Linked DNA regions of Homo sapiens: region 2 is linked to region 1. Evidence: promoter capture Hi-C in 16 types of primary human blood cells and fetal thymus (Javierre and others, 2016). All regions are on one chromosome and are shown on one strand. The core of a region is centred on a gene start or on the middle of the fragment in contact, and the rest is flanking DNA. Distances in the headings are between cores, read along the strand shown. Region 1 holds the start of RXFP2 (relaxin family peptide receptor 2). Region 2 has its middle 220 kb from the start of RXFP2.

What was found. The method cuts DNA at HindIII sites, captures the fragments that hold promoters and counts their contacts. A CHiCAGO score of 5 or more calls a contact.
Region 2: a fragment that was not itself captured here is called in contact with the fragment with the promoter of RXFP2 in region 1 in 1 of 17 cell types (endothelial precursors); the score reaches 5.5 in endothelial precursors.

Annotation. Positions count from the first base shown.
Region 1 is chr13:31,737,005-31,741,220 of GRCh38, reverse strand. RXFP2 (relaxin family peptide receptor 2) reads right to left here and starts at 1,695. Exons shown (of 18, transcript NM_130806.5): 1 at 1,515-1,695. The coding sequence starts at 1,608. The HindIII fragment of the contact is 9,597 bases long and covers 1-3,328 here.
Region 2 is chr13:31,517,149-31,521,187 of GRCh38, reverse strand. No RefSeq gene overlaps it. Among named protein-coding and RNA genes, the nearest start is that of RXFP2, 220 kb to the left of the region's middle. The HindIII fragment of the contact is 1,613 bases long and covers 1,389-3,001 here.

The sequences.
Region 1 (4,216 bases), core at 446-2,945:
AATAAAATCAAACAAAAATTATTAATTGAACTTTTTTTTAGTTTAAAGGGTGACTTTACATTATGGTAAATCACAAAATGTTATTTTAGTAATAGATGTTTTTCATCTCATAAACGGTTTAAGCAAAATCAATTAAATGCATTATGTATAAAAGCAAAAGTATAGTAAAATTGGTTAAACTGTGGTTATAGTCCCGTACATTAAAGAACTTTTTAAGGGCACAGATGAGCTCTATGACATGTCTTAAGAACCTGCTTTGTAGCTGTATATTCTTAAAATTGTATAAAATTGAATATTCAAATGTGGATAGAACATGAACTTCTGAAGTAGGACCTTAAATATAGAAATAGACTGCTTGTTGCAACTGTACTGCATGCAAGGTGAGTTCATATATTGTTTCTTCTTAGTTAATCCTTAGCTTTTCATGTAAGAGATATTAAAATATAAAATAAAAGTCATGCTAGGTGCATGGAGATATAGATTTTAAATATTTGTAGTAAAGTTTTAGTATTATTTTAAATTCAAAATAAAATTTAGATATTTTAAGCCTTTTAAAAATCTTTTGTTTGTTAGAAGTTTTAAAATAATTCCTCATAAGTATTGCATTTTATTTCAAGATTTAAAATATTCACTTGGAATTCACCTAATAAAACTGAATATTTAAAAAACCTAAAACGAATTTCTCAGAAAATAAAAATAATTTCAAATTTTAACCTTTATTCTCAGAGGTTTATCAAAATTCTTTAAGAAAAAATACAAATTAAAATAGAAACATTTTTGAATAATAATAAACCCCAGCAAATCTTGGGTGTGGTTAATAGGTTGTTTATGAATGTATAGGCTGACAACGTATCTTTTTATTTAAAAACAAGTGAAGATTTAGGTTTTATTTTTTGGTGAGCTTTACAATGAAAATGGTACTGACTTGAAACTTAAGAGTTTGACTGAAATAAAAATTTCCACAAATTAAAAACAAAAGAAAATTATCTAAGTAAATGCACTTGTATAGACTTTTAATAACTTTATTTTAGAGAGGTTTACTCTTAGAGACAGATACTGTTTTTTAGATCTGCCTGTGGCTTTGGAGTTCCCAGTTTAATTATGTTCACGCAAGATAGTTACTAATAATTACTTGAATTTTATGGGCATATTTCAACAGGTTGAAATTCCACAAAACACAATTTTAGTTTATTAATTTGTCACACTTTTCAGAACAAATGCCAAAAATGTTTTCTATGTTTTAATTGATATAGTCAACATTGTTTTTTGACATATTTTATCTACAGCTTTAATAACATACAAAGGCTTGTTTCCATGAAAAATTTGTTGCATCTAAAAATTACTAGGCTGTGTGGGACTACAAGCAATGAAAGATAATGACAAATACCAGGCAAATTTGATGTCTGTTTTTTTTTTAAACACCCCAATATATTTATTACAACTGCCATAGAACTACATAGAAATGTATTTTTTGGGAATTGCACTCATTTAAAACGAGAAAGTAGCAACCTTACCTTTGACATTGATCAGAACGATGAAATGAAGTAGAAAGAACATTGTAATCAATCTGAGGCTGAAGAGATGTTTAAAAACCAGAAAAACAATCATAGGTTTACAGCAATTGAGTTATTAGACGTATCCTCTTATACCTCAGCAGGAGTTCTGATGTAGTAAGTTCAGTGCCTCCCATGTTCTGAGCATGCTCACAGCTAGAACCTCACTGGCATGAAGGGAGATGGATTCTTGTCACTATGCAGCCTGTCTTTTTTGTTCTTTCTTTTTTGTTTCTTTTAGTTTAAATCTACAGTTGTGTTCTTGATCACTAATTCATTATGGTGTGTAAAAGAAGGTATAATAGGACTTTGGTATTATCTGATAAGAAATATTTTTTAATCACTTAAAAATTTTTTTCCTCCAAAGCATGTACAATTTGCTCTGTTTAAATCCAAACATCGAAGTTCTCAAATATGAAGGATATAGGCTTACACTGAATAGGCTATGAAACCCTTTACAATTATATTTTCATGCAATAAACAAATGTAAAAAACTACTTATTGACAGATACACAAAGAACACCCACTTCTATTCAAATGTACCTAAATGTTTTCAAATGACATATGAAAAGATAATTTAAATATATGGCATTGTGTTAAATAATTACTGTAAAACATTCATACAATATTTTCACTTCACATACTTCCCGCATAATCATATTCCTTTTTCTTGAAGTGAATAATTTTATTCTTGCTTCCAGCTCTGTATTGCACACCTATTAGAAAACACTAATTATAATTTAGTTCTTACATCCTGAAAGCAGCTTTCTCAACAGCATAGTTAGTACAAGTTAAAAGTATAAAAATTGACTTTTGGTTGTAGGATTCTGTTGATCCTAGTGTAATCATTAAGACTTCTCCAAAAAGATGTAGAATTTCCATGTCTGAGTTTATATTTTACTAACAGGGAAATATCTATCTAGAATACAGTTTGTAGTTCTGATTTGAAGAGAAGATTTTGTGACTGAACGATGCAGATTCTCTTATATGTTGTCGTTAACTGTGTCCTAACAACACTGAAAAAAACTACCTTGTGGTGACTATTATCGTCACAAATCATAAAACACGGGGTTTTCCTTGTTCTTTCTTTCATTCTAGCCTTTGAGAGAACAAGGATTCAAACAGAATGTACAATAAAAAATACTTTATTTATCACATAATGTATTTAGTTCTTTTCTCTTTTTAAGAAGTGAGTTAAGTTCTCTAAGACACCTCCCAGACATATTTATATGTGGTCTCATCTGATCTTTCAAATCAAAAGAAAAAGCAACAGAGAGAATAAAGATGAAAAGAAATACTTCAGGATCTTTTCTTACATTTCAAGCATCTTTTTTTCCCTCACTAACCTCAAGGTCTTTTTAGGTAAAAATTGCCTTATTTCACTTAAAGGAATGATTAGTTTTTCTTACGTTTTGTGTTTTGCTGTCGAGATGATGGATGCTAGTTTCTGGTACTGAAATTTTGAGCATGAGTTTTTAAGTGCAATTAAATACCATCATAAGTCTATTTGAAGTATAAATATATTTTCTATGAAAATGTAATTTTTGGAGAAATAAGAAATGTCAAGATGTCAAAGAAATTAGTTAAGATTTATTCATGATATCGAGCCCTAGCAATAGATTTACATTGCCAAAAAGTTGAATCGTTATTCCTTTCTGTTAGGCTTTTCAATGTTAATCTTTGAAATGTATTAACACAAACTTTCAGAAATCAATAATTATAAATAATAGGAACATCTTTGGCTCACTGGTTTTTAAAGGTAGAGCATGCAAGCTTTGAAATACCATTTCATTTAATATGTTTTAACTTTGACTTATCTGGTGTGAATATCCAGCCTTTTGCACCGAAACTGAAATGATTGACATGTACACAGGGATATAATGTATGTGTTTAAATAAGAGTGAATGAATGTAGTCTATTCTTAAAGCCACAGTTGGTAAGGAGGTTCCAAGGAGTGCTTCATGCAGAGCTGAGATGAAAGACTTGTGCAAACTGATTCTCACTCGATAGTAACTTCGAATCTGCGCAAGTGTTTTTTATTGATCCTTGCCTGAATCAGCTCATCCCTTCATTCCAGTCACCTGTTGGTAGGACCCATACTTTTAGCAGTAATACTATAAAACCTCATGTGAATATATTATTTACTATATAGCACAATTCAATATAATTCTGGCTAATTGAAGGGAATTTATTTACTGAAAGTACTAATTACCTAGTTCTATGTGATGGGGGGAGGGCACAGACATTTTCTTAGCTTCTACTGTAATTTTTGTGTACATCTTGGAAACCATTGTTAAATATAAAATTCTTAAATCAAGAACATAATTTACTTAAAAATGGTCAGAAACCCTAATTTTAACACATTTTCATAACTGTGTGATTGTTTTTTATATAGGCTATAATTCATTACCTTGCCAAATTAATGTTTTCAATTAAGATATTTACTAAACACTTACTCTACTTAATGAGAGTATAGCCTTGTAAACATTTCTCACTTCTATAGCCTTTTCACTTTATATAGCCTCTTATTCACAAAACCTGATCCATTAGCAGTTAGTATCACTTTCTGTTTTGGGGAAAACAAGACATAGTGATATTCAAAGAACAAATTATATGAATAGATAATATCTGTCCTCAAAAAGATAAATTATAGAATAATAAAC
Region 2 (4,039 bases), core at 946-3,445, 220 kb after region 1:
TCAGCAGTGAAGATTAAACTTGATGCAGAAAATAAGAACAAGGTGAGAAATGCAGTTTATCATGACATTCATTTATTTTCCTATTTTGTTAAACTAAAAAAGCACTGCACAGGGAGCATATTTAAGCAATGATCTTGCTAGAGATCATTTTGGAACCCACTTTTTAAAGCCCTCTAAATTTCTTAAGATTCATAAGGCAACAGGGATGATATTACATATGTGATGTTATGTCTCTATCAAGAAAGAGCAATGATTAGCAAATACAAAAGAACTGTGTATAGTTGTGTTTTTAAGAGTATTTATTAGTTAGCACGGAAAAGACCATATGTCTTTTGGCAGGAGGTGAGATAATAATTAAAGAGTCAACTCAAGTAACTGGAGAAAAAAAGTAAAAACAAAAACAAAACTGGAAAAGAGAAATTAAAATTTTAAGTTGAAAAGAATTAGAAAACTGAAAATAGTGAAATACATAGAACCAGAAACTGATTTTTAAAAAATCTTCTTAAAATAATAAAATTTCTAGCAAACAATAACAAACACAAACACAACAGCAAACAAAATTTAAGAGATGAGAAAACAAAACCAATCCAGAGATGATGAACAGAAAACAAATGGAGATTCTGTGGTTAAATTTTCCAAGCCATGGGCAATAGTGTACGTGCATATTAAATAAAGAGATTAAAACCCAAGCTGATCTGTTATATCAGTGGAGCCGGTAGCCCTGATATAAGGCATGTCTAGAATTCTCTCCAAGGAGTAGAGTCTCTAAATATGGTAAATAAATAAAGGTCTGTACGTTTCCATAGTCCTCTGCAAAAGGAGAAGTTGCAGAATACTTTCTAATGCCCTCTGATGTTTTACACTTTATAAAATATTTTTGAGTATATTGTGTTATTTTATATTTAAAACAAAACAAACAAAACCCTAAGGCGTAGGTGTTATTATCACCCTCACATTTTATAGTTGAACAGTCATGAAAACTCAGGGTCAAAAAGAAGACGTCAATTTCCCAAAGACACACGGCTGGTAAATGGTATGGGCAGGACTTGGGTCAAAGTTCTTGCTATCTGCTTTGGGAATAGACCACATTCCTCCCCTGCCTTGCTCCAGTGTCACCTGGAGAGCAATTTACAAACCTCAGTTGCAAGGATTTTTTTTTTATTACAGAGTAAAGTGTGTGTACTCTTAATAGTCTATAAATTAAGCAGATGGTTGAACATGGAACAAGAGAAAAGTTATTTCCAGAGAGAAACTACTTAATATAGTTTGCAGAGGCAGGATCTTTAATAAAGGATAGGTCCTCAGAAAAGCACTAATCAAGCTGATTGGTAAGGGGCAGTGAAGCAACATCAGGCCCCAAATCCTTCAGAAAATGTGTGGCAAAAGCTTGACCCCAAGTGTCAGCATTTCAAGTTCTTAGGGGATGGCGAAGGGCTTAAGAATTGATTTAGCATTTATTGAGGTGACCACAGGACCCCTACGTTGCCTGGATTTTTTAACCATTCATTAATCTGGAACAGTAAAACAACAACTATTTGGTGGTGCTGGGCCTCATGAGCATAGGAGAGCCCTATCACCATGGCCTTAGGAAAACCCTTAGCAAAGAGGAAGGATGGTGTTACATTTCCACTGCAGCTGTGAGCAGAAAATAGGAGGATATATGACTGACAAGTTTAGTGAAACAAGAAGGCTTTCAAAGACATACAAAAAAAAAAAAAAAAGAAGAAGAAGAAGAAGAAGAAGAAGAAGTCCAGATTTGGAAATGCCAGCAGCAGAGCTGGGGAAGAGAGGCATCAATCACCAGCATCCGTGGCCAGCCAGTCAGCTGAGCCAAAGGAGAAGGCAACGGTCTCTCTGGACCTTTCTGTTTTGTTGGGGGAAGGAGTTGTTGCAGAAAGTAACTGAGAAGACACTAGAGGGTTAAAGGATTTCTGGAGTGTGTAGTCCATGTATAAGTTCACTTCACATGGTCACATGAAACCAAAGCAGATGACCAAAGACCTCCCCGAGCACTGATTAGTTACAACAGTGCAGGGGGAAAAACTAAAGTTTAAAAAATTGAATGTTTTCTTTTGATAAAAATTTCAGGATGTTAGAGAAGAAAATTGTACTGACTGTCAAAAACTTTTCCAAATATAGCTCCAAGTGCTGAGCAAGCTGCAGGGTGCAGTTAGTTTAAGCCACTCAGAAAGTGAATTAGCTTTAAACTTCATAGGTCAAGAGGAAACCTTTATTTCATGTCAACTGAGATGTTCGTGAGAGTAATGAACATGATGGAAACTGTAGCTGAGATTGAGCCATGTGTGGAATGTTAACAGGACCAGAGCGAGGGCAAGCAGCCCGGTTCCTGTAAAGGCATGCAACCAAAATCCTTTGTATTTTCCTCAATACGTTCCATTTTCCCCTTAACTTTGGTACTTTGGTCTGGTAAGTGTGGGAGCCATTATGCAATTAGCTTGTCAGTGGCCTAATGTTTCCATATAAGTTAATTCAACTGTTATAACAAAGCATATTTCTTTGGGGGAGTGGCAAGCAAGATGTATGAGTATGCTCCCTTCCTCATGTAGCTTCCCAGCTTTCCTCAGATTCCACTGATCCAATTCCTTCTGAGTCTTTCGGCTACATGTTGGCTACATCTCCACTCGGGTAAAATAGCTAAAGTCATTCCCCAAAGCTGGTTCCTACCACAGAGGATGCATCAAGAAAGGGCAATTTCTCCCATTGGTTATTTAATTCTGCTGATGGGTTTAGCTTCTTCACTTTCATATCTTATTTCAGCCAGATTTTTGAAAACTGTGAGAAAAATAATACGAAAAGCAAATATATAGGATAATAATCTCAGTGGTAGTTTGCTTAACATTTTCTGTAACATAATAAACCTTAAAAATGGATTCAAGTAGAAAACCTGGATAGACCAATAAATACGAAGGGATTCAGAAAATCATCAAAGAAAGTACAAGCAAAAGGCCCTGGGCGCAGAGGATTTCATGGTCTTTAAGCTTTCAAGGGACAGATGATTCCCTTTAAATTCTAAGTATAGGAAAAAAAACCAGATAATTTTCCAAAAGTAGGACAATCTTTATTATAAAAAAAAGAAAAGTATAGGCCAAGCTTATTTATTAATTTATATATACAAAATTCTAAACATATGACTAAAAAATAAAATTAGAGAATATATTAAAATAATAATCTGCCATGATCAAGAAGATTTTAGGAAGACTAAAATACATTAATATTAAGAAAGCTAATGAAATAAAGCATCACCTTGATACACCAAAAAAGAAGAAAAAAAAGAATCATCTCATAGATGTCAAAAAGGCATTCAATATCATTTTTACCATTGCTGACTTAAATGATTTATTTTATTATTATTTTATTTATCTATCTATTTATTTATTTATTTATTTATTTATTTATTTATTTATTTATTTATTTTTTGAGAAGAAGTCTTGCTCTGTAGCCCAGGCTAGCATGCAGTGATATCATCTCAGCTCACTGCAACTTTCGCCTGTTGGGTTCAAGCGAATCTCCTGCCTCAGCCTTCCAAGTAGCTGGGATTACAGGCATGTGTCACCATGGCCGAATTTTGTAGTTTTAGTAGAGGTGGGGTTTCGCCATGTTAGTCAAGTTGGTCTCGAACTCCTGATGTGAGGTAATTCTCCTGCCTCGGTCTCCCAAAGTGCTAGGATTACAGGCAAGAGCCACCACGCCTGGCCTTAAGTGATTTATTTTAAATATAATTTTGGAAGTGTGTTAGCTATCTATTGCTGCATAGTAAATTACCCCCAAATTAGCAGTTTAAAACAATAAGCGTTTATTATCTCACAGATATTTTGTAAGTTAGGAATTCAGGAGTGGCTTCGCTGGATGAATCTGACTCAAGGTCTTTTATGAGTTTGCAATCAAAATATCAACCAGGGAAGCAGTCATCTGAAGGCTACAATGGGGCCAGAGTAACTGCTTCCAAGCTGACTTACTCATATAGCTAGCAAGTTAGAGCTGGCTGTTTGATGGGAGGCCTCAGTTTCTCACCATTATA